6 separate regions of the Homo sapiens genome follow, and all the other regions are linked to region 2. Evidence: promoter capture Hi-C in 16 types of primary human blood cells and fetal thymus (Javierre and others, 2016). All regions are on one chromosome and are shown on one strand. The core of a region is centred on a gene start or on the middle of the fragment in contact, and the rest is flanking DNA. Distances in the headings are between cores, read along the strand shown. Region 1 overlaps NR1I2 (nuclear receptor subfamily 1 group I member 2). Region 2 holds the start of GPR156 (G protein-coupled receptor 156). Region 3 overlaps GSK3B (glycogen synthase kinase 3 beta). Region 4 holds the start of NR1I2 (nuclear receptor subfamily 1 group I member 2). Region 5 overlaps GSK3B (glycogen synthase kinase 3 beta). Region 6 overlaps GSK3B (glycogen synthase kinase 3 beta).

The links. Contacts are between HindIII fragments. The CHiCAGO score rates a contact against its expected background, and 5 or more counts as called.
Region 1: a fragment that was not itself captured here is called in contact with the fragment with the promoter of GPR156 in region 2 in 1 of 17 cell types (neutrophils); the score reaches 5.8 in neutrophils.
Region 3: a fragment that was not itself captured here is called in contact with the fragment with the promoter of GPR156 in region 2 in 1 of 17 cell types (neutrophils); the score reaches 6.4 in neutrophils.
Region 4: the fragment with the promoter of NR1I2 here is called in contact with the fragment with the promoter of GPR156 in region 2 in 8 of 17 cell types (neutrophils, activated CD4 T cells, total CD4 T cells and 5 more); the score reaches 10.1 in neutrophils.
Region 5: a contact is called between a fragment that was not itself captured here and the fragment with the promoter of GPR156 in region 2, in 1 of 17 cell types (neutrophils). The highest score is 5.8, in neutrophils.
Region 6: a contact is called between a fragment that was not itself captured here and the fragment with the promoter of GPR156 in region 2, in 1 of 17 cell types (neutrophils). The highest score is 6.0, in neutrophils.

What each region holds. Positions count from the first base shown.
Region 1 is chr3:119,810,682-119,815,313 of GRCh38, forward strand. It overlaps NR1I2 (nuclear receptor subfamily 1 group I member 2), which reads left to right. Exons shown (of 9, transcript NM_003889.4): 4 at 858-1,045; 5 at 2,005-2,279; 6 at 4,298-4,440. Among named protein-coding and RNA genes, the nearest start is that of NR1I2, 31 kb to the left of the region's middle. The HindIII fragment of the contact is 2,542 bases long and covers 548-3,089 here.
Region 2 is chr3:120,282,903-120,286,960 of GRCh38, forward strand. GPR156 (G protein-coupled receptor 156) reads right to left here and starts at 2,320. Exons shown (of 10, transcript NM_153002.3): 1 at 2,127-2,320. It overlaps LOC124909418 (a long non-coding RNA gene), which reads left to right and starts at 2,254. Exons shown (of 2, transcript XR_007096029.1): 1 at 2,254-4,058. The HindIII fragment of the contact is 9,811 bases long and covers 1-3,803 here.
Region 3 is chr3:119,866,168-119,870,622 of GRCh38, forward strand. The region is part of intron 8 of GSK3B (glycogen synthase kinase 3 beta); the gene reads right to left. Among named protein-coding and RNA genes, the nearest start is that of NR1I2, 86 kb to the left of the region's middle. The HindIII fragment of the contact is 4,059 bases long and covers 73-4,131 here.
Region 4 is chr3:119,780,523-119,785,141 of GRCh38, forward strand. It overlaps NR1I2 (nuclear receptor subfamily 1 group I member 2), which reads left to right and starts at 1,579. Exons shown (of 9, transcript NM_003889.4): 1 at 1,579-1,778. The HindIII fragment of the contact is 6,406 bases long and covers 1-2,779 here.
Region 5 is chr3:119,905,399-119,909,464 of GRCh38, forward strand. It overlaps GSK3B (glycogen synthase kinase 3 beta), which reads right to left. Exons shown (of 11, transcript NM_001146156.2): 7 at 357-454. Among named protein-coding and RNA genes, the nearest start is that of NR1I2, 130 kb to the left of the region's middle. The HindIII fragment of the contact is 9,633 bases long and covers 1-4,066 here.
Region 6 is chr3:119,956,542-119,960,787 of GRCh38, forward strand. All of the region lies in intron 2 of GSK3B (glycogen synthase kinase 3 beta), which reads right to left. Among named protein-coding and RNA genes, the nearest start is that of MIR6529, 130 kb to the right of the region's middle. The HindIII fragment of the contact is 5,917 bases long and covers 1-4,246 here.

The DNA.
Region 1 (4,632 bases), core at 569-3,068, 470 kb before region 2:
CTATTTAACTTTGATATATTTGTGCTCCTAGGTCACTATGAGATTAAGGCTCATGCGGAAAAGGCTAGGTGTTTCTAGTGCATATTTGTCTCCATGGAACACAAAGGGACCCAAAGCTGCTTCTTTCAAGGACAAGTTCTCTAGGCTGCTGGCAGGCATTCTTGATCTCTCCCCACCAAGGACCTCATAGCTTTGTTCTACACACATGAGTGGGCTCCAGAAATCCACAGAAGACCCTAAGGCTCTGGGCTATATAAGAAGTCTCTGGAGTTGCTATTTCTTGCTAAGCTGTAGCCCAGCTCTCTAGGGTCTTGGAGACCCAGACACCTCTGAAGAGTCTTGGTATATAATTCACCAGAAAATGATAATTGTAGATGCCATTTACTGAACATCTCTTATGTACCAGGAACTATATTAGGCACCCTACATGCAAGGTCTCATTTAACAGCGGTGCGAGGTAAACACGGTTTCTCCGGATCACAAAGGAGAAACCTGGAGGCAGGAGAGGTTAAGGAGGTTGCTTGGGGTCACAGGTAGTAAGTGGCAAAGCTTTCATGCAAACCCAGCGCCTTTGGATTCTGAAGCCCGTGCTCTTGCCAGGGCCCCACAGTGTCCTCACAAACTCCACTGCAGAGGGCAAAACACCAGCCTCACCTCATCTCTGTCCTCACCCAAGTGTTTCTCCAGAAGAGCCCACAGGCCTCTTGAGTCCAGACAGGGGAGAATTGCTTGTCACCATTACTTTCTCTTTTGCCTAACGGCTTCTGCTGCCTTGAGAGGGTTACACAGTGGCTCTCCAGGGGGCTGGAGGCTCACCAGGGGCACGTGTGCCTGAGCCAGCCTCACTGTCCCTGCAGTGATCATGTCCGACGAGGCCGTGGAGGAGAGGCGGGCCTTGATCAAGCGGAAGAAAAGTGAACGGACAGGGACTCAGCCACTGGGAGTGCAGGGGCTGACAGAGGAGCAGCGGATGATGATCAGGGAGCTGATGGACGCTCAGATGAAAACCTTTGACACTACCTTCTCCCATTTCAAGAATTTCCGGGTAGGAGGAACTGCACAGTGACCCGAGGTGTCACTGCCATCTTCATTCTCACATAGAAACTGAGGTTCCCCAAGGATAAGAAACTTATACAAGGTCACAGCTAATCAGTGGTGGAGGGTAGATTTGGAGAGCTGGTCCTGCATCTGTGCTAGCTCCTCAAAGCCTTAGTCTCATTCCCAAAGGTTCTGAAAGTGTGGTCCCTGGGTCAGCAGCATCAGCATGCAGATTTTCAGGTCACCTCAGATCTCCTGAATCTGAAGCTCCAGGGAGGGGCAGGACCCCCCGGTGATTCTGTTGCAGGTTCAGGTTTGAAAAATCACTGCTCTCTCCTTTAAGGCAGGTAGGAACTGGGTCTAAGCAATAAGTGGAGGGAAAGCTAGGCAGTTCCCCAGTGTTGCTGGCATTCGGGGCTTTATGAGGACAGGATCAGGACCTGTTGGGGGTGTGACTTTTGTGAACTGGTGTTTCTTGATCCCAGCACATTAACTATGTCTGTGCTCTAAGTGCCCTCCTTCCCCTTTGCACTGATAGATATCTCAAGTGGCCCTTCACAGCCCAAATAACTGGATTAGCCCAGTGACCTCAGATCTGCTCTTCCCATCCATAGCACCCTAAACCTTCTGAGTCTCCTGAGCCCAACATCTGGAATGCTTGGGATGACACACCATGGTTGCAGTCCCCCTTACCCTCCATTTTAACCAAGCAGGGATGTGTGTGACCATTAATTCATAGATCCCCAAAGCACCTTCATCTGATAGAGAACACCAGAGAGAAGAAACAAATGCTGTGTGTGTATATGTGTGAGGACACACGCATGCATGTGGGTGTGAATGCCTGCATTTGTGCATCCTCTCGAGCTGCAACTGTGGCTGTGCATGTTTGGCTGGGGCCTGAGTTGGGACCTGTCTATGAAAGCACATGCTGTCTCTCCTCTGTCCACCTCCTGGCATGTGTCCTAGCTGCCAGGGGTGCTTAGCAGTGGCTGCGAGTTGCCAGAGTCTCTGCAGGCCCCATCGAGGGAAGAAGCTGCCAAGTGGAGCCAGGTCCGGAAAGATCTGTGCTCTTTGAAGGTCTCTCTGCAGCTGCGGGGGGAGGATGGCAGTGTCTGGAACTACAAACCCCCAGCCGACAGTGGCGGGAAAGAGATCTTCTCCCTGCTGCCCCACATGGCTGACATGTCAACCTACATGTTCAAAGGCATCATCAGCTTTGCCAAAGTCATCTCCTACTTCAGGTAGGACATGGAGACTGGGTGGTTGGGTGTGGAAAAGAACTGGAAGTGGCCAGGAGGTTCAAAGGGCCTGGGGTAGATCCTGAATTTGGGGGATATTGGTGTCAGAAGACCCTCCTTTTCCTGTGCCCTTTCCCCGGGCAGCCAGTGCTGCTGGGGAGTAGAGCCCTTGCTGTATGGCTGGTTAGTTTTGTGGCTGTGGGCCTGCCAGTGTCTCTGCCTCTTCACCTGCTCAATGGAAGCTAAAAATGCCTCCCCTGCAGGGCTGTTCTGTGAAATAAGAACACATCCGAAGAACACCCAGCACAGAGTGGGCATTCAGATAGTCTTTTGTACTCTCCCTTAAAGGGGCAGGAATCACATGTTGACAGTTCCAGAGCAAGGAATGAGAGGAATAGAAAAGATAAGGCTGTGAAGGCCATGGGGAGGGCGGGTGGTCCTCAGAGCCCAAGGGTCAGGTCTCCCCAGAGCTAGATGTGGAGGCAACAACCATCGGGCAACTGGGGTTAGTGGGAGACATGGGAACTTCCTGGGGTGGCAGGAACCACAGCCCCAGAATATGTGTGCAGTCGTAGGATTAGGGATGGTGCCAGGTGTATCTGTCCTTGGGTAGGCCACCTTGCCTTGCCAAGCCTGGTCAAGTGGGGCTGAAACACACCTGCCACAAGCTCCTGGTTTCTTCAGCAGGTTGAGGGTAGGTTATACTCTAGGAGCCCAGAGGTTCTTCTCTGGCCCTGTAGGAGTCATGCGTGACTTATTTAATGGGGTGATGCTGACAGCAGGTTTGGAATGGGGTTCAGATGGTAGCAAATAAGCTTAAAGGGGCAGGGAGAGAAGAATACTTATAAATGTGGACATTGGGAGATCTTTGGTGAAATCCAGTGACTGACAATTTAACACCAGGGCTTCCCACTTGCTATTTCTCAAGGCCACCAATGTCGAGCACAGTGACCTGAGGTGTCACTGCCATCTTCATTCTCAGATAGAAACTGAAGTTCCCCAAGGATAAGAAACTTGTACAAGGTCACAGCTAATCAGTGGTGGAGGCTAGATTTGGAAGTACCAAAGCCAGCTCGATGCCAGGTCCTAAGCTGGGCAATGGGGAGGCACAGAAGAATAAGATCAATTACATGGCATTTGTAGCTCAGTGTTAGGGATCTAAAAGAAGGATGGGCGCCAGTAGCACAGGGTCTGAATTCCCAAGGCCAAGAGGTAGTGTTTCCTCAAAACCCAGAGTAAGCAGCCTCCCTCTCAGGCTGTGAAGCTTCCTCCTTGTAAGGAATGCCTCCTTACTGGGGAGGTGGGGGCCCCTCCCAGGTTGGGAGGGAGTGATCCCTGCAGGACCGGAAGGGTATCCATGTAACCATAATCTCAGAGGCTTGTTAAGCCGCCTCCATGGTTAGGCCTGTGCTTCAGCGCTAGGAGTGGGGCTTCAGGCATCTGGGCTGCAGGGAAACAGTAGAAATACATGTGTGCACATTAAACCCAACACCGACAGCAGGAAGCAAACATCCCCACTACTGGAACTCAGGCCAAAAGGGCGGCACTTTCACTCTGGAAAGGGGAGACTGCACTCTGGAAAGACTTCTGAGAGGGGCAAAGACATAGCATGGCCTGAGGGGCTAGCAGGATATACTAAAGGGGAAGTCATTCCAAGGGGGAAACTGAGGCAGAAAGGAGGAGGCCAGGGACCAGAAGCCAAAGCACTAGCTGTAGGTCAGGATTTGTATAGGAGCTGAAGGAGATGGGGCCAGCCTGTAAGGGACCTGGATGCCAAGCTCAGTGGGTGGAGTTCCCGGAGGTTGGAGGGGAGGAGAGGATGCTGCGGGGCAGAGCTGTCTGCTGGGTTGTGAGGGGAGAGATGAGAGGCAGCCAGACAGCAGCCACAGTCATCCTCAGGGAAAGGAGCCATCCTCCCTCTTCCTCTCGCCCCCAACTTCTGGATTATGGGATGGCTGCTGGTGCCGGTCTGTGGGCTGCCTCCCAGGGAGCTGTCCTCCCCTCCCCATCCTTGCTGCCAGGGACTTGCCCATCGAGGACCAGATCTCCCTGCTGAAGGGGGCCGCTTTCGAGCTGTGTCAACTGAGATTCAACACAGTGTTCAACGCGGAGACTGGAACCTGGGAGTGTGGCCGGCTGTCCTACTGCTTGGAAGACACTGCAGGTGCCCGAGAGAGCCTGCCTGCCCTGGCAGAGGGAGGGAAACACTGCAGTTATGGGAGGAAGGGAGCTACGCCAGGATATGCAGGTTCTGGGATGGCAGGGCAGGAAGATGGAATGGTGGAAAACAAGATATTGGTGAGGGATGATTAGATCTTGGTCAGCTTGCTGAGAAGCTGCCCCTCCATCCTGTTAC
Region 2 (4,058 bases), core at 1,070-3,569:
TTAAGGGGTCTGCTCAAGATTCTTATGGGAAAGTCAGAAGAATAAGATCCATATTTTTTTCTTAAAATGTTAATATCCTTCACACATCTATATTTGAAACACCTTCTGATTCAAGCTCTGTCCAGGACCAGATCACATATGTCTGGATTCTAAACACTGATTTTTATTAACAAGTTTGTTTTAAGATAATAAGTTTATAAAATGAGAGGTAGAAAACATCTCTGTATGTCTAAAATTTTTCATAATAAAGTACTGGAGAAAAAAAGGTGAGATAGTGATTTGCATCCTTTATCAGGCAAAATTCATCAGCAACTAAACATGAATGTTCTGATTCTCAAGACCTTTGCAAAATAAAGGCTCTGATTTTTTTTTTTCAACTAAATGTAGAACATTTCTTTCAACCCCCAAATCCACCTTTGCAGCCCAAGTCAGTCCACGTTGCACTGTTTCTGCAGCATGTCAGAGCCTCTGGCTTCTTTCCTCTCTCCCCCTTCCCCCAATTAATCTCTGAAACCTACATAAGAATGGAATAAAATGCAAATTCAAGGAGAAGGATGCAGTTTTCAGAGAAGGCCTCATCCTCCTCCTACCCTATAATGGAAATTCCCTTATGGTTAAACAACAAAAATGGAAATATTAAAACCCTCAGCTGAAAACAAACACTTAAGCACCTATTCTCCTTTCCAGAGAATCTGTTTCCCTCAATCATTATTTTTCCACTCTTTTGAGAGCCTTCTAGGCTGAAAGTTGTTTCATCTCACCCATCTTGGGTCTCTCCTAGGTCTCATTTCTGCCTTCACCAGGCTTGAAGTTCTATATCCCTAGGCTATCAGAACTTTGACTCTGACCAGGCTCAATTCTAGACTTTACTGGGGAATGGGGAGAAGCTAAAAGCTGGGGGTGGAAGAGAAGGGGAAACAGAGGGAACATTCCAGAGACAGTAGTGTCCCTGAAGGGGAATTAGGCTGGCAAAATGGGGACCAGAAAGCCACCTCTATTCCTCACAAGGGACACCTAACTCAAGCACAGCCTGCTAAAGCACTTTATTCTCCAGACTCAAATTGCCTTAACCTGTAAGCAAACGCTTCCCCAGCCATTTATCCGCAAGCGCATTTGCCCCACCTGCAGCAATGAAAGAAGCACTGTTTTTGCAAGCCGGGCTGCTACCCAGACTGCGAGGAGACATTCTGTGCAGAATTCAGCCACTGGTGGAGAAAAAGAAGTTTTTCTTTGCAGGCCTTGCTGCCTAATACAACTATATCAACAATTTCTCCCGCTGTGTAAGCCCCATCTGAAAATCTTTCCCTTTTATCTAGGATGCAAAAATGTAATGTTATCCTCCATATTCTGGTTTAAAGAACTACACCAGGAAAGACATTTTATGATAGGCTAGGGCATCATTTACCTCTAATTCAAGCATGCATGTACCTAGAAAACTAACAAAGGGGTAAGTTATGCCATGCCATGACTTCTCTTCCCAGATTTCTATCCTGAAATCTTAACAAAATTCGATTTTAAAAACCTCAAGGTTTGTATTCTTCACGAGTACATGGATACCTTGAGTTCTACCTAGAGGCCTCTAGTTTCTGACAGAGCTAACTTGGAAAGGGCTGCTTGCCAGGGTACAAGGATGTTGCAGCTTCCAGGTGACTCCCTCATGCCCAGAAGCAAGGCAGTTCAACAGACGCAGTGCAATACAATTGTCCCTTTTCAGGACTTTGCAATCTCCATGGGGGAGCCCATCGTGCCCGCCACTCTACACCCTGGGGGTGAACATGCCCTGCAAAGCAGATTCGGCGTGAGGAGACTCTGGAAAGTCTACAGGCGGTGGGAAACTGTTTCGGGATCTCTCATTTTCAGCACAGCCGGTCGCTTATTCAGCAGAAAACCCACGGCCCCATCTTCACACCAAATTACAGTACTCTCCCGTCTCTTCCACTGAAATTGCCACTCGCATCCCTGATGCGTGACCCCTGCTCACCTCAAGTTCCTATGAGAGTTTCTTTACCGGTTCCAAACAAACTGCCCAGATTCTGGAAAGGGAGAGAAAGCCCCTCCCCCTTTCCACTTTCACTTAATAATTAAGTGTTTGAAGTTTTGTGGATCCTTAAGGTCGCTGTGCTCACCTCATCAGCGTCGGACCGCCGAGAAGCGCCAAGCCCGCTGCTATGTGCAGGACGCCCACGGTCCCCCGGCGTCTCGCGCGTTCGCGGGGCTGGAAGGGGCGGGAAGGGGCGGGCCGGGGCAGAGACAGGGGCCCGCGCCCATCGCCGCGCCGGGAGCCTGGCGTGGAGGCGGCGGGACGGCGGCGCAGGCCTCTGAGGTGTGCGCGGGGCGCCGGGCGCCTCTGGCCGGGGCACTGGCTGAGCCACGCCTGCCCGCCCCTCCCTGGCGCCGCCCGCGTGGCGCGCCTCGACCCTGCTCTCCCGCGAGGGCCGGGAGGGCTCCGGGACCTTGCAGACTCCACGCGCCTCACGGCTCCTCCAGCTCCTCGGATCTTTCTCCTTGCGTCGCCGCCGAGTCCCCTGGGGCGGCCCCGCCTCCGGCCGTCTCCTCAGAGACCTTCCCTGGGGGGCGCCTTCCCCTCAGCGCCCCTTCCCGGGCCTCGAGCCAGCGGCTGCCGCAGGAGCTGGCCCCGGGGCGAGGAGCTTCAGATTCAGGTCCCTAGCCGGCCTCGGTAAGGAGACTGGAAGGATTCTCCGCGAATGCTCATTTTTATTTCTGGAGTGGCGTCGGAGTTACCAATTAGTTTTCTTATTTTATACTCTCTGGAGTTGCCAAATTCTTTACGTTGAGCTTTTGCTTATTTTATAATCAGAAAGACAAGTACGTTTCTTTTTCCAAGAATGCTTACAGGAGGCCACAAACAAGATGTTCGCACCCAGCCCACTGTCTTCCGCTTAAAAATATGTGTGAGATGTTGTGTTTAAGACACCCTCAAGGAGAAACATAGAGGGGAGACCTGGAAATGGTCTTGGGAATCCACTTAGACTTTCCATATTATATTTGTTTCATTTATTTTAAAATCTCAGACCTATTTATGTGCATTAGGACATTCCACATTTTTACAACTGCGCAGAGGAAATCTTTGGTTGTAGAGGACGGGAAGAGAGAGGCCAGGTCCGCAGACCCCACTGTGACAAGACAGTGGCTACATTCTTAACTGTTTTACACATTGTGATACCCAAAGACTTCTTTTCACAGGATTCTACTGAGGGGGAAAACAAGAGGAAGAAAGAAAGATAGACAAGGTTTTCCTCAAGGCAGTAAGCAAAAAGCTGGTTTCTCAGAAGAAAGAATTATGTCTGAGATTTTACCCAGGACTCTCCAGATCTCTCATTCTACACAGAAGGACCCTTTCATTTGGAACGTGCAGAAACTGAGGAGGACCATCTCTCTCCTCCATGGGGGCTGCCTGAGTTAAAAAGGCCTGGGTCCATCTTTTTTCCGTAGGAGAGCTGACTTCAGAGTCTAGAGCCAAATCTTCACTTCTGTGGCTCTAGATTGAGGATTTGCCCTTCTGATCTCTGTGGGGCTTTTTTTTTTTAACCTGGGAATTCCCCTGGGCTCTTCGGCTGTTATTCTCATCAACCCCTCTCTATATTCTGCAAGACATTGAAATCTTTCTCCCAGCTTGGCCCCCACCTCCAATCCCAGTATTCTCTTTTCTGAGATTGGAGTATTTCCAACCCCTCAGTTGCCAGGCACTGAAGGTTTTCATCTTCCAGGCCTGCCATGTTTACCTCTGAGATGTTTCTGGCAACTGTCCACTTCTCTGCATTCTCACACTGCTGCTCTTGATAAGCTTCGATTATCTGGGGCTGAATTGTTTCAATAATTTCCTAACTGATTTTCTTGCCTCCTATCTGTCCCCACCACCAACATAGACTTAAGAATGTCACTCTCTTGACAAAACAAGCCAACATCCTCTATCCTCTGTCCCACTCCCAAACCTGCAGTAACTTTCCTGTGCAATTGTAATACAGTGTAAACTTTCATAAGGATGGGGAGTGGCCAAGATGGCTGACCAGAAGCAGGTAATGTACATGGCTCTCACG
Region 3 (4,455 bases), core at 852-3,351, 420 kb before region 2:
CTCATCTGAATTATTTTTGCTTCTAAAGAAAAGGAAACCACCAAGAACTGAAATTTGTCTTTTAATTAAAGAAGCTTCCGCTGTCACTTCTTTCCTTACTCACTGAAATTGCTTAACACTCAGACCTTTGGTTTCATGGATCTTCATCAATATTTATTCTTGTAATAGAAATAATAATTTTAAAACCCCACAATTCCTAAACTTCAGCCTAGATGTCAATGAATCACCCAAGAGGCTGACAATCTAAATATACTATAAGTGAAACCTATGCCATACAGTGAATAAAAACAGAAATCACAGCTACTTACATTGTTTACTATTACATTTCAAGAATGAGTAATTATTTAGCCTCTCAAAGAAGATTTCCCCCAAGTTTTATAGACCTGCCCTGAAATTTTGGGAAAAAAAAATTAAGTACATACCCGCACTCCTGAGGTGAAATGTCCTGTTCCTGACGAATCCTAAAGATGATAATGCAGTGAAATAATCCAAACAGGGGAAGTCAATCCAAAAGAGAATAGTCCAGCAAGGAAAAATATATCCAATGTTATAAGAAATCCATGGTGTGGGGGGGGACATAGAAAATGTTTATACAGTTATAAACTTTAAACATCAGTCTTCACAGTAGCAAGTCCAAGTTTTAAAAATTATTTCACCACAGTGTATGCAAAAAAATTTTTTTTGATTGTGCAATGGTGAGGCACAGTAAAGAAACATTTTAATTTTAGTTTATTATGTTCCAATGCCAGTGCGTTTATTAAAAAAATACAAAACCAAAAAAAGTTAAAATCAAAATGAAATCTAGAAGTAAAGTTCCCAAAGTAAAATGGTCTTCTATGACCTGGATTCATCATCCACAGACATGGCTGGGAGGGGGCATATTAGCCTGCTTTTAAAGTTTCAAGTTCCCAATATGCTACTTTTTTCTCTATTAATGTGTTCCAGTTACACAGTATAAACATTTTTTTGCTAAGTTATTAGTGATGAGAGGAAAGTAATAAATATATTTAAGTTATATTACTATAGATTTCAAGCCAGATACTTTCAATTTGTGTGAGCTAAGAAGGATCAGGCCACCGCGGATTATTCTCCATTTTGGATTGACTTCTCTGCTAAAAGATGTTTCTTTGCTGACATTCTCATTATCTTAGGACTCATCAGGAAATTGACATATCACCTCAGGAGTGCGGGTATTAACTTACTTTTTCTATTGTGGGCTTTGCCCGCTCATACCCTTGCACCCGGTACTTAGGAAAAATAAATAGAGAACATTTTTTCCTCTTTGGAAAAACTCTCTGAAAAAATAAATCCTACATCTTCCAGCACTACAAATTAAACACAGTTCCATCTGCAAATATGCCCAATTCACCCACCAAAAGCTAAACAAAATATATAAAATTAACAATACAACTAAGGGACAGTCACAGTTACAGGTGACAGGCATAGTAATGTATACCAACACCTAGGCACAACGGAGCCAAATATGCAAGGGAGGTAGCAGGGTCTATTATGTCTAGGTATTGAGAACAAAAAATGGCAGAACTCACCAGTATCTGTGAACTCCCCTGGCTATTCTAAGAGAATTTAACATTCTTTTAGGATAGTTTCCAGTGGGGGAATTAAATATTTTTCAAAAATAAATAATCCGCGGATTACTTTTAGTCTGCAGACTAAAATTTAGTACACAGATTAAAATCTGGCCCATCAGAATAAATTCTCTCATGAACTAAAACACAACCAGGTGGACAAAAATAGAAAACCAGACTGAAAGAACTGAGAGCACAAAATAAGACTCAACTGGGCCAACTAACAATTAGTACGCAGACTAAATATGGCCAGCGAAGTATGCAGCAAGGCCACAGAGATCCCAAAACACCCCTTTAAAAACAAAACCAAAAGTAAATAAATAAAACAGAACAAAATAAAACAAAGCAAAAAATAAGAAGAAGAAGAAAGAAAAGAAAAAGAGGAAGGAAAAAAGAAAGAAAAGAGAAAGGAAATACTGAAAAGAACCAAAACACTGACATGAACTTTTAAAGTGATTCAAATACTACCTCACCTATGCAGCAACTCATTTTCTTAAATTGAAACAAATATCAACTCCCATCACAAATACTAGCCCATAGAAGAAACTAACAGAAAAAAATCATTTTTTCAAAAAGAAAGTTTCTGCAGTATTGAACAAATGCAAAGAAGTCCTTAAATGAAGAATTATTCAAAATAAATTTGCATTTGGGTAACTAAAAAATGACAGAGGCAATTTCTGCCCTACATGTCCTAGAATAGACTTTGTCCTTCAAATTTCAACCTGGAGCTAAGTGTTGTGACTGAATCTCAAGCACTTTAAAAAGGCCATTTTTAAACAATCACATACACCATACTAAGACCTATGGTTAACATGGATCTCACAGCATCAGCTCTTAGCAACTCTATTGTATTATGTAGCCAATCAGAGCAATGTAAAAATGTCCATTTTAAATGGCTGTTGGCAGTGATAATTAATCTAACAGAACACAGAACAAGAGCCATGTCTGTTCCAAATAGCTATTCCTCATTAGTTTTTATTACTATAAATGTACAACACTCATCCTATATCCTGGTCATATACAAAATATAAGCATCCAGTTTTAAAAACTAATAAACCATGAATACTCCTAAAGAGCAACTCCAATATTGACTCTCAAGTAATCTATTAATCATCTGAAATTATATGCAATTTGTAAACCTAAACATAGGATTAAAAGTGAGACAATGCCATGGATTGTTGAATAGGTAATTATGTTAACTAAGAAAGAAATCAAGTCTACTTAAGTGCTCATATGTAGCACATAATTCAATAATTACTTAACAAATTAGTCTATACTATTTTTTAAAATATTCTCCCTATCTTTACTAAAAATACAAAAATTAGCCAGGTGTAGTGGTGGGTGCCTGTAATCCCAGCTACTCGGGAGGCTGAGGCAGGAGAATTGCTTGAACCCGGGAGGTGGAGGCTGCAGTGAGCCGAGGTCGTGCCACTGCACTCCAGCCTGGGCAACAGATCAAGATTCCATCTCAAAAAAAAAAAAAAAAAAAAAAACATATATTCTTTGGCAGTCTTTCACATGCTTTGCTACATTGATCTAATGATGCACTGACATACAAGGTAATCCAATTCACTTTAAGTACTATCAAAAATGATTACCAGAGGCTACTGAAAACAACTTTCAGAGTCCTCCTCCCAAGTAAAATTGCTATCTATGAAGTTGGCATCTAACAGGGTAGGATACACAAACTGAATTCAGCTCAAGTCTACTGCATAATTTTCTAAGCCTTTTCGTTAAGATACCAGTTCAGGTAAAGAAGGTTGAGCATAAGAAACACAAAGAATCCTTTCCTTAGCCATGACAAATCTAACATCCAGTGAATTTCAGCTGTACTAATTAAAAGCCTTATCGAGTTTTCCCAAGTTCTACTATAGGTAAGAAAAGTTATACAGTAAATCTTCATTTAATGTCATTGATAGGTTCTTGAAAACTGTGACTTTTAGTGAAACGTATAATAAAACCAAATGTTTTCCCTCATCAACGCTGAATGAACCAACATTATTTGAGGACCTATTGTGCATAACTTCACTTAAAGTTGCAGTTTCTAAGCACCTACTAACGATGTTAAATGACTGGCTGTATATATGTAGATATCAGCATTTAACTATGTAACATAATTTCTCTCCCTCACATCATGTGCTGATGAAATAGTACTACATGCCTACACAGGAGTGGGATTTGCCAAATGTCCGCTTATCCAATTTAATCTTTCATTGTTCACAAAACAATTATTACAGTCAGGTTGGCTCTCCTATGAATATAGAAATATTTTCTTTTCATTCAGCTCTCTCCACCTTGAGAGATATTCACCCAGGCTATAACAATTCCTAACCTTTTCTACACCTAGGCAAATCTTAAACCTCCCCTTCAACATCCCACCTCATGTATTATCCCTAAGTGGGGGTTCCTTTTTCCCTCCACCATCCTCACTGGAAGTCTGCCTTGTAACACCTACAGCCATGTGGAACACCTCTGAACACTTACAGCACAGAATTAAGTATACGGTTACATAGTATCTCACATTATTCAATACTTGCTTCAACTAAGCTTTTCAACTGTCAGCTTTTCAAGGACAAAGACTATATATTTTACTTCTTTTGCATGCTTTATGGTACCCAGCACAGCACTGGTTACATAGAAGATACAAGATTTAAAGAATAAATGATAAATTAAAAATAGAATTTTGTCTTCTTTTCAAATCCACCCCAACCTCATCCTTTGCCTCCCACAAGCAATCTGAAAATTATGTCTTACTTAGTATTCTTCCTTTTTCACATTATTCCTTTCACATTTGGATTAGCCACCCTAAAAGCTGGATTTTAATGTGGGTTTCCAGCAAACAAATAAAAATATATAGCCAGTAGAAATA
Region 4 (4,619 bases), core at 329-2,828, 500 kb before region 2:
AGCCATGGCCTTCTGATCTGTGTTTCTCAGGGGACCTGCAGGCCCCAGATATAGCCCCATGCTGTCCTCCTACCCCAGAGCACACTGTTCAGGCTACTTCCACTGGTACTGAAATCCAGTATTTCACTTACTCTTTTTCTTTCCAATATCCTCATGACATTCAATATTTCACTTACTCTAGGTCCTCCCTGCCTAAGGCCCAAGTCAACTTTCTGTCCAGTGGGATTTGTAATCCAATACCTCCTAGCCCTAGCAGAATCCCATGTGGATAATCAGAAATGTGACTGGAAAAAGGACAGAGCTCTATGGCTGTGGGTCCCAGTCCCCACTGCTGGCAGTAAGTCCCCAGCAGTGAGCTGTGTAAGCACCTTACATTCTGCGCTTGGTTGAAAACAGCAAGGCAAGCATCCACTTGAGAAATGTCAACCCCTAGGAAATCCCAGCCTCAAGTCTTTCTCATCCCTTGGGAAGTGCAAATTGGATAGAGAAGAAACCAATTAAAAACAAAACAAACAAATCATACTTAGATATTCTGGCTTTTCTCACCAGGGCTGGATTAAAGCATGTACTTCAAAATAATAACAACTTAAGTCAATAAATAAATGTAAGGAAGTCCAAATGTTCACCTGAAGACAACTGTGGTCATTTTTTGGCAATCCCAGGTTCTCTTTTCTACCTGTTTGCTCAATCGTGGTCTCCCTCTCCCTCTCTTGTTGGGGCCCATGCCCCTGCTTTACTGTTGCCAGAGGCTTGTACTTGTTTGCCTTTTAGGTAGGAGCAGTTACTTCCACTCCCCTCACCTGCCATAAAGCATCTTTATAAACAAAGCAAGTAGAAGAAACACATCCTGGTATCCACCACATTCGGCTTTTGTTGATTCTGTTCACTTGGGAGCACCTGCTGCTAGGGAATAAGAAGGTTGAGGCTGAAGAGTGAGGACTCTTCAGCTCCCCTCTGGCAGGACCCGGGAGAGGAAAGAGCCCTCAGCTGGTCCATCCTCCCCACTCCTGGTCAGCCTTCTGTTCTGAGATCAAAGTGGTGGGGTCACATTCTCGAGAACTGTGCTCAGCCCCCTCATCTCACACCCTTTCCCTCTCCCTGTGTGCCTGCCCCCCTCTTACATAACCATGCTGGTGATTGGCACCGTCATAAATCAATACTTTGCTCACTTTCACATCAAGTAACACTATCCAGGGAGGTGGTTTCAACAAAGGAGGAAGTATAAGGAGATCTAGGTTCAAATTAATGTTGCCCCTAGTGGTAAAGGACAGAGACCCTCAGACTGATGAAATGCACTCAGAATTACTTAGACAAAGCGGATATTTGCCACTCTCTTCCCCTTTTCCTGTGTTTTTGTAGTGAAGAGACCTGAAAGAAAAAAGTAGGGAGAACATAATGAGAACAAATACGGTAATCTCTTCATTTGCTAGTTCAAGTGCTGGACTTGGGACTTAGGAGGGGCAATGGAGCCGCTTAGTGCCTACATCTGACTTGGACTGAAATATAGGTGAGAGACAAGATTGTCTCATATCCGGGGAAATCATAACCTATGACTAGGACGGGAAGAGGAAGCACTGCCTTTACTTCAGTGGGAATCTCGGCCTCAGCCTGCAAGCCAAGTGTTCACAGTGAGAAAAGCAAGAGAATAAGCTAATACTCCTGTCCTGAACAAGGCAGCGGCTCCTTGGTAAAGCTACTCCTTGATCGATCCTTTGCACCGGATTGTTCAAAGTGGACCCCAGGGGAGAAGTCGGAGCAAAGAACTTACCACCAAGCAGGTATGGTTTTTCTTTCTTTCTCTTTTGCTGGGGGCTGACCGCCCTTCAGCTCCAGCCAAAAGATGTGTGTGAACACAAATATACCTTCTGTTTGAGGTCAGCATCATAGTGGGTCGTGAATCATGTTGGCCTTGCTGCTGTCTCCTCATTTCTAGGGTGGAAAAAAAAAAGCATGAAAACAATCACTTAATGTTGAGCCCCATTACTGATGCTCTCTGGTCCTGCACTAGCCTCCTAGAAAAATCACCACAGGAGAAGCCTTAACTACTGCATGAGTTACCACAAGTCACACATACAACCAGCTCCCTGTTACAGGGCTGGAGTCCCTGGACCCAGGAAATACCACCTCCAAGGACTGTGGGAGCTGGGGACTATGGGAACTGGGATCAACTCAGTCCTGATTCCTTTTGGCCTGCTGGGTTAGTGCTGGCAGCCCCCTGAGGCCAAGGACAGCAGCATGACAGTCACCAGGACTCACCACTTCAAGGAGGGGTCCCTCAGAGCACCTGCCATACCCCTGCACAGTGCTGCGGCTGAGTTGGCTTCAAACCAGTGAGTTTTCTACCTCTACTATTGAAAGGGCACCTTGTCCCACAGAACCGAGTCTTGCCTGCATGTGGTCAGTGCCACCAGGTCCTTCTTCTCTCCACTTTACAGCCCAGCTCGGCTGAAGCTATGGCCAGAGGCACTGCTTTAAGGCCACTCCATATCTAGGACAGGTCAACAGACACCTCTGAGGCCACTGAGTCTTGACTCAATGAATCAGCTATAGCAGGCACTATTCCTCTCCCACATGGCCTCTAATGATATGGTCAGAGTTGAAAGGATGCTAAGGGAGGCCTCAGAGGCTTATTTAATCAGTTGGTTAATGGGAAAAAGTATTTTGTGGTACACAAATACGCTTTAAAAATATTTTAGTTATGTCATAAAAGTCTAAACCTGGGGTTGACAAACTATGGCTCACAGGCTAACTCTGGCCCACCAGCTGTTTTTATAAATGAAGCTTTATTGGAACACAGCCATGCCCATTCGTTATGTATTGTATATGGCTGTTTTTGCCCTACAACATCCTTTCAACTCTGGCCATATCATTAGAGGCCATGTGGGAGAGGAATAGTGCCTGCTATAGCTGATTCATTGAGTCAGCAAAATTGACCAATTGCGAAAGAGACAGTATGGCCCACAAAGCCTAAAATATTAACTATCTGGCCTTTAACAGAAAAAGTTTGCCAACTCCTGATCTAAAAGCTGTCAACTTGTTCCAAAATTATTATGGAATAAACCCAAGACAACCACAAAACTGACTAGACTAGGTTTTTTAGGTAATAACTTTTTAAATTATAAAGTAATACATGATTTCATGCTCCTTGAAAATGAGAAAGCAGTATAGATAAACCTAAATTCACCTTTGGCCATTCTGTCAATCCTAATCTCCAGTTTCCCCAAAAGTACTTAGTGTGATATATTTACTGCCAGACCATTGTGTCTGTGTGTGTGTTCATCTATGCATAGATGGACTATTAAACCTATCTGTTGCCATGTTGTTCTAATTCTGTTTTTCCACTCAATAGCAAGACTTGGAGACTTTCCATATCTGTATAGAGCTCTACTTCATTTATTTTAACTGCTACGTCATATTTCACAGTGTACACTTCTTTTATTTAGCCGTTTTCTTTTCGATAGATATTTAAGCTTTTCCAATTTTTCAGTCTTACCAATGAACCTCACTGTGTTTGTCTGCTTCTAGACATGTGCACGTATTGCACTAGAGGAACTACTAAGACGTTGAATTGCCACATCACAGGATATATGTGGTTCAATTTTTGGCTGCCAAACAGCCCTCCACAGTACCCGAACCGACTGTACTCCCACCAGCAGAGAAGGATAGTTACTGTTCCTCCACACTCCAAACAATGCTTGCTGTTTATTCAGTATTTTATTATTTTTTCCATTGAATTAGTGCAAATGACAACCCATTATTTCAATATTTTAATTTCCCTGATTATTAATGAAGTTGAGCATTCTTTTTATAGGACCCCTCTTGGCCATTGTATTTCTCTTCTTAAATTACCTATTCATATCCTTAGCTTATTTTATGTCGGATTTTTTTTCTTCTTTGTAGGAGTTTTTTATTTATTCTCAATGCAAATTATTTGATATGTGTGTAATATTCTCTCTAAGCTTTGTTTAAATCATACTTTTTAGCCAACAGAAATTTTTACTATTATTGTTGTTGTTATTTTGATGTAGTTGAATCTGTTAGTTTCCCTCTTTCTGGATTTTACTCTTTGAGGCTGATTTTTAAAAGATTTCTCAACTTCCAAAATTATGAAGCTACTTTGGTGCACCTTCCTGTAATACTTTTATTTAAAAAGTTAGTCTTTATTCACCTGGCACTTATTGCAATACATTATTTCAATACTATTTATTGAAAAGTCCATCTTTTTCCTATTTGTTTGAAATATCACCTCTATCATGTACTAAATTCCCACTTACACATGTCCATTTCTGTGTCCTTTTGTATTTATTTCCTATTCCTGAGCCAATTTCCACTATAATGTTTACCTTTTCTACTTGATTTTTTCCCCCAATAAATAGAAAATCTATTTTGTGTTTTGATATTTTGCCTAGTTACCTTATGGAATTCTCTTAATAGTTATAAAAGCTTATCAGTTGATTCCTTTGGAATTTCTAGTTAGACAAACATATCATCTATATATAGTAAGAGTTTTGCTCCTTCCTTTCCAATCTTTACAAACCTTAATTTTTTGTGTCTTATTGGTTTTTCTTTGCCATTCAGCATAATGCTGAGTAGTAGCCATGAAAGTAGATAGTCTCAGA
Region 5 (4,066 bases), core at 31-2,530, 380 kb before region 2:
GGAGTATACAGTGAGCAAAAGCAGACACAGCTTCTGCTTTTATTCAGCTTACATACATTTTAGTGAGCTTATAGTCTAATTTTGCTTTTAAGTACTTTAAATAACAGATATATACCTTTCTTGCATCAGATATACATAATAGCTTTTCTAGGATCATACAAGAGAAGAGTAACTCAAATAAAAACCAAAAGGCTGGGGGGGCGTTCTTATACCCACTTTATAGCTGAACTTGCTACGTGACCTTGGATTGCTTCCTCCATTTTTTAAGTTTCTCGTATGTGTACATGTGTGATATATATTATTAAAGTAGCACAAAAATTCCTTCCAGTTCAAATATTCTGATTCAACCTTCTCACCTTGATTATTTCTACCAACTGATCCACACCACTATCCCCTGGAAATATTGGTTGTCCTAGTAACAGCTCAGCCAACACACAGCCAGCAGACCATACATCTAAAGAGAAAAGAAAACGAAGCCTTATTAATACTTCATAGCTTGAGCTGAAAAGTGTTTGTATACGTTTTCTAATTTTACTTTGATCACAGAGTAAATATCACAGGAAAAGATTATACAATCCAAAACAGAGAAAAAGTCATCAAACTTCCTTAATGTACTTTTTAATTAAATGTTAAACTTACCAAAGAGGAAACCAGACCAATAAGAATATTCTAATAAAGGGTAAAGTCTATTATTATCAAATTTCAGGTATTCAAGTCTTCAAATAACTAGACAGAGGATTACAGTACCAAAGCTATGGCAGGACTATCTATTTATCTTACTTAAAAATAAGTCAAAGTGACACAACGTCTGCATATTAGTAGGTACTTACAGAGGAGCAGCAAGGAAAGGTTCAATCTCTCCCAGACACTGGGCTTTAAGTCAGTGCAAATTCTGAGGAACACTTTTAAGACTTTAAATGGTTGATTTTTATGTTCTACGATGACTGACAGAAAAATGTGCTTAAATATATCATTTTTAAATAAAATGGAATAGCAATGATGGAGGAATACATTTTACTTCATAAATTATAAAAATAATCCACTTTTAAGTCAAAATGAAAACCTCAATCCGGAGAGAAAACTCTAAAAATTAACTCAATTAATACACTTTAAAAATACTTTAAAGTATACATCCTGGTTTACCCAGGATAGTTATGGTTTATATGTTGTCCTGGGATAATTATTAGTAACACCTCTTTCTCTCTCAAAAGTATTATCGGATTAGAAGATAAACCGTACGGTCACTCTATTTTAAAGCCCGCTATTAAGACTTCCTACAAGAAAAGGCTGCTTTTTAGCTTCCAGATTTCTGAGATTCCTAGGTTTTTAATGTACCAACACTCAAGTGCTTTAGGGAGACGAATATGAATCATTGCTGGACTTTACCACCTACCAGTACGGAAGGAGAAGAAGGAACAGTAAATGGTTGACAACAAAAAATTTTAAAGGTCTGATGTGGTGAGATGTACTATCAAGAGAGACTGGAAATCGTTGCTCCAGTGACTACTTTTTATTGACCTAGAAAAATGACATAGTATCATTTAACAAACTCGAGTTGATTTTGTCCAGTCCTAACTTAATAACCAAGACATCTATTCTGCAAATATAGACCAAGAGTCCTATTTAATATATTAGGAAATTGCTAAATTAAGCACATATGAAAACTTGTTAGGGAATCTTTACTCAAAGCCAATAGTAATACTAACTGTTATAGTCAAGCGGAAAAGATGTATCTCCTTATTTATGTAAATGCTTATTTTAATCTAAGTTTTAAAACATCCCTTTACCTAGTTAATAAGATGGAAGGTAATATGCACTCAACTTTTTTCCTCTCTAATACGGAATGATTCATCTCAGATACAAGGCTGAAAAAATTGTAAGGGAATAATTATGCCTTCATAAAAAACAATAGGAAACACTTTCTTAGGTAAGATTTAGCTACAAATATGGAAGACAAAAAGTAAAACATCAAGGAATACTCTTGCCTAGAAGTTATCACAGAAGACTGACACTCAAAAGATTCAGGTGACAACTATACTAGCAGCCCTCAATTCATGTTACATCAGTCAAGTTAGTAAAAACAAGGTACTTATCAATCACTTTCTGGAGGACACTAAAATCTCTTCTGCTCTTACTTCAAAGGACAAATGGATGAAATTCTCCAGATAGAATAAAACTTCAACTAAATAGAAGGTACCGGAAAAATAGAAATAGTGCTTTGGCACACTGAATTTTAGTTAGTTGGGGTTAAAGCCAGAATAGCATTTTGTTTCATATTTAACTCGGGTTCATGTTAAAGTGATCTTTCAAGACCATCTAGTTTAACACACTTATTTCATAGATAAGGAAATTAAGACATGATAAAGTTAAACGACTTGCCCAAGGTAAAGGTACTGAATAGTAGAGCTAGGCCTGGAATCATTCTCAATTCCCAATCAAAACACCACTCTCTTGAATAACTGTCTCACTGTCACAGAATAACAGCTTCTTCAAGGGTCTGTCTGTAAGTTCAATTCCTTGTTCTAAGGAAGCCTTTTGTTCTCATTCTGCCATTTGTCAGTAAGATAATATAATCAGAGACATCAGCTTTACCTCTGGCTGTATCTAAATATGACAATAATCTTGTCAGAAACAGTTACTCTTTCATTTCAAACATTACTGTTAAAAACATTTAAAAATGTAACAATATTAGTATACTTTTTGGGAGGGTCTGTTTAAAAACATTACAGTCTTAAGAGGCAAGTATCCTAAGTTTATAATGGGAAGCCAAACCTAGGCTTGCTAGGGTTCAAAAGACTCCTGTTTATATAACTGTTCCTTAATGTGTGAGATGATGTGTTAACTTTTTGAGAACAATCAAACTGCCTTTATTTTAGGTGTTTCTGGCACAGCTCACACCAGTATCTTATATACAGATAATCAGTATCATATATTTGAATAAAATGTAAAGCAGCTGGAAAATCCAATGACATACCCAAAGACAAGGGGCTGAAATTTGCTCTTGGGGAGAGTCAAGTCTAAAAATGCCACAAAAGAATACCACCTTTCATTTCTACAGTATTTTCACTAACATTTTATTTAAGCCTCACAGCCACTCAGAAAAGAACTGTCAGTAATCTCCACTTTACTTCAAGTGACCTGACACTCAAACCCAGGTCGACCACAAGCAAAATATTCTTTGTACTATTTTTCATCTGTCCATTCATATATGCCATGTACCACAGCCATACTAAGACTCTGAGAATTACATACACATACATATACACATTATTATGCTCTCTACCCTCTGGTAAAGCAGATGTCAAAGTGTGGTCTACAGAGGACACTTTGTACTCTTTGCACCTGGGTCCTCTAGACATTTCTAGATGTCCCAGAGGGCAAAACTCTTTTCATAAGAATACACCTTCACTGGGTTAACATTTGTACTGAGGGTACAAAGGAAATGGTGGGTAAAACTGCTGGCCTCTTGGCAGAAATCAAAATGTGCTTTGGCATTTTGCCATTTGGCAAAATAAAAAATGATAATGTGTTTCTGATTAGGGTGTTTGCTTGTATCAGAGAATTTCTATTTATATCAAAAAGACAAAAAAACTGTCACAAGGTCTGTTCTATTTTTTGTTGTTGCTGTTGTTGTTTTGAGAGGGGGGGTCTCATTCTGTCACCGAGCTGGAGTGCAGTGGTGGAGTCTCAGCTCACTGCAACCTCTGCCTCCTGGCCTCAAGCCATCCTCCCACCTCATCCTCCCAAGTAGCGGGGACTACAGGGGCATGTCACCACGCCCGGCTAATTTTTGGTAGTGACAGGTTTTCACCATGTTGCCCAGGCTGGTCTCGAACTCCTGAGTTCAAGTGATCTGCCCACCTCAGCCTCCCAAAGTGCTGGGATTACAGGTGTGAGCCACTGCACCAGGCCAGGTCTGTTTTTTGTTTGTTTTGGTTTTCTGTTACTGTGGGGATGTTTTTGGTTTATTATTTGCATGCTTTTGTTTGTTTCTGGACTAAAGGAATTCTCTTCAGAAACAATATGTAAGAGTAAAATAATTTTGGTTTCCACTTGCACATCCAGC
Region 6 (4,246 bases), core at 90-2,589, 330 kb before region 2:
AAAAAGTTTTAAATTTCAGAGCATTTCAAATTTTGGATTTTTGGTTTCAAGATGCTCAACCTATAAAATAAGAAAAAAAGTGATCAAACTCCCCAGCAGCAGAAAGTCTATAAAGGACACTAAAAAGAAATTAGTCAGAAAGTAGAACCTAGACAGTGGAGTAACGTAAGCCTTAGGAAAGGTGAGCTATTCAAGAAAAGATTCTGGAGAATATCATCATTTAAGCAGACAGAAGAAAAGGAATCAATACAAGAGACAGAGTGAGAAAAGCTCTAAGAGATGAGCCACAAAAATAATACCCTTGAACAGGGGCAAATAAACATTTTCTATAAAGGACCAGACACTAAATTCTTCAGGTTTATTCAACTCTGTAGTTGTAGGGGAAAAGCAGTCAGACAATATTTATAAGAATGAATGTGGCTGTCTGTTTACAACAATATGTGTAAGAATTAACGTGGCTGTTTGTTATAAATTTTATTTACAAACACAGGTGGCTGGTTCACTGTTTCCCAATCCCTGCACCACAAGGCAAGAAAGGAAAGTTCCTTACCGTCAATCTCAATTTTGTACTTAGTACATATACATAGTGGACTTTCTATATTGATTTAGGGACTAATGTTCTGGAAATTTATGATATTTTCCTTTTACATAACTATAATTAGTGTGTAAGTTAAAATTTTAAATTATAGTTATAAAATAACATACTGCCTAGGTAGGCTTAACATGTTCTGTAACAAAACCCCAATTTTATAGAAACAATAAAAAGGACTCATGTATGCTACTTTTCCCAATCAGTTACACAGACTACTTGCCCAGCACAGAAAGGGAAATGGAAGAGAAACAACACAAAGGATGCCTGCATGAACTAAGGGAATAACGGACTTTTATATCCTGACAGGTAATATGACTACTAAAGTAGATATAAACCAGGTTCTTGAATACTTAGTTTTCGGAAGCCCTAGCATGTAAGTCAATGCCAGCTTAAGTGTGTATTCCTTTAACCCTGTATCTTTGAGAGCCAATAACACAACAGCATATTATTATTAACAATAGCAATGATGGCACCAACAACTACAGAACACAAAGAATTTACTATGAGCTGACCACTCTGTTAAGAGCTGTATCTTCACAACTTCAATCCTCTCCACAAACCTATCAAGTAAGCAACATTATGATCCCCACTTAAGAGCGGGTGTAGGCATAGAGAGGTTAAGAAATTTGGTAGCAAACAGCACAGGCAAGATTTAAACCAGGTGTGTCAGATTCCATGCTCTATCACAATGAAATGTAACTCAATTCCATTTATTACTATGTGCTTGAAAATACAATGACAATAAAGGAGGACTTCAGTATTGAAAGAGCTTATAATTCAAAATAAGACAAGTATACAAGTAGGCAAATAAAGATACTGATACGGTTTGGCTCCACGTCCCCACCCAAATCTCATCTCGAACTGTAATCCCCACGTGCTGAGGCGAGGACCTATACCCCCCCAAGTGTCAAGGGAGGGAAGTGACTGGGAGAGATGGTTTCCCCCATGCTGCTCTCCTAATAGTGAGTGAATTCTCACAAGATTTGATGGTTTTATAAATGTTAGTTTCTCCTGCACGATGACTCTCTCTCCCACCACCTTGTGAAGAAGGTGCCTGCTTTCTTTCCCTTTCGCCATGACTGTAAATTTCCTAAGGCCTCCCCAGCCATGTGGAACTGTGAACCAATTAAACATCTTTCCTTTATAAATTACCCCGTCTCAAGGAGTATCCTTACAGCAGTGTGAGAATGGACTAACACAGATGCCATACAACAGAAAATGTTAAGTGCCACTAGAGTTATCGAAAAAGGGGTGGGTGGGTGGGTGGGTGTGGCAGCTCATGCCTGTAATCCCAGCACTTTGGGAGGCTAAGGAAGGAGGATCACTTGGGCCCAGGAGTTCAAGACCAGCCTGACAACACAGGGAGATTGCATCTCTACAAAAAATAAAAATAAATTAGCTGGGCATGGTGATGCACACCTGTGTTCCTAGCTACTCGGGAGACTGAGGTGGGAGGATCACTTTAACCAGGGAGGTCAAGGCTACAGTGCGCTATGATTGTGACATTGCACTTCAGCCTGGGTAACAGGGTGAGACCCTGTCTCTCCCTCGACCCTGGAAGAAAAAAAAAGGATGGAGAATTCTAAAAACAGAAAGAATACTTCCAACTAGGAAGATTAAAAAGATTTTTAATGAAAAGAGTGTTCACTTTTTTCATGAAAAGAGTGTTCACTTTTTTCATGAAAAGAGTGTTAAGTTGGAGCTTAACAGGTAGAATTCAACTTGTCTCTTAGACCATTTGCTTTCTGAATACAGAAACTAAAACTCGAAAATTCTCCTTACTCAGGAGAAACTAGAAACGGGGGCATCAGCCTATATATCCCCTGGAATACAACACAACTAAAACCTCTGGTTACTGTGCAGAATATGCCTTTGTGCTACAACTAAGGTTTACACAAAAATGATTGGTTGACTCCCTCTCTCCTTGAAATGTTTTCTCCAATTACTTTCCAGGACACTAAATTATCTTGCTTTTTAATCCTTCCTCATTGGCCAAATTTGCAGTTTTCTTTGCTAGTTCTTCATAATCTCCCTATTTTTTAAACACTGAAGTAGCCAGAACTTAGTCTCTCACCTCTTTCAGCTGCCTCTATCACCTCTTCCAGTCTCAGGGCTTTAAAGGCTGATCAGACTCCCAATTGTATATCTCTAGACCAGACCACCCCTGTGAATTCCAAAATCTTTTAACCAACTGCTTATGTGACAATTTTTCTGTGTCTAATATACATCAACTTGACATGTTATAAGTAAAATTTTTCATCTCCTTTAAACATGCTCTACCCATAGCTTTCCCCATGTCAGCTGTTGGCAATTCCACTCCTCTAGTTGCCCAGGTCAAAAACCATGAAGTCTTGATTCCTCTTTCTCTCTGACTTTTTTTTTTTTTTTTTTTTTTTTTAAAGACAGAGCCTCACTCTGTCGCCCAGGCTGGAGTGCAGTGGCATGATCTCAGCTCACTGCAACCTCTGTCTCCCAGGTTCAAGTGATTCTCCTGCCTCAGCCTCCTGAGTAGCTGGGATTACACGCGTGTACCACCATGCCCAGCTAATTTTTTTGTATTTTTAGTAGAGATGGGGTTTCACCATGTTGGCCAGGCTGGTCTTGAACTCGTGACCTCAAATGATCCTCCAACCTCAGCCTCCCTAAGTGCTATTATTAGCAATAACAATTATTGTTCCCAAAGTGCTAGGATTACAGGCATGAGACACTGCGCCCGGCTTGACCTCACATTAATCTGTCAAGAAATCCTGTTGGCTCAACCTTCAAAACTTACCCAGGATCCCAGCAATTGCACTCTTGGGCATATGTTTTATAGAAATAGAAATTTACGTTCACATTAAAACCGGCATATGAATGTTCAAAGCAGCTTTATTTAGAATAGCCCCCAGATGTCACTCACTGGGTGAATAAACAAACTGTAGTATATCCATACCATGGAATACTACTCAGCAATAAAAAAGAAACAATTATTGATCCATGCAACAACATGGTTGCATCCCCAGAAACCTATGCTGAGACAAAAAAAAAAAAAAAAAAAAAAAGCTAGCCCAAAAGGTTACATACTGGATATGATTCCATTTTTATAACCTTCTTGAAAGAAAAAAAGTTTGGAAATGGTAAACAGATTAGTGGTTACTGCCAGGGGTTACACTGGGTGTTAGGGGTGGAGTAATGGCAGGGAGAGAAGTCAATGTGGTTATAAAAGGGCAGTAAGAGGATACTTGTGATGTTCTGTATCTTTACTATCATGGTCTATACACAAACCTATGCATGTAATAAAAAAAAAATAGAAAGAAATATATACACATACAGCTCTCCAAAGTAGTACAAGAGAATCTGAGGAAATTTGAATAAAATCAGTGGATTCTATCAATGCCAATATCCTAATTGTGATAATGTACTATAATTTTGCAAGATGTAATCATTGAGGGAAAGTGGGTAAAGAGTTTTACCCATGTGGGATTTCTCTACTTTGCTTTACAACTGCATAAATATCTGAATATCAGCCCCCCTCACATACTTCAGGTATTTCCTCAAATGCTACATACTTTCTCACACTATTTAAAATTGCAACCTCAACATTTACTCTCAGCAATCCTTAAACCCCTTCATTACCTCAATCTTCTCCAGAGTAACAATCATCTAATACATTAT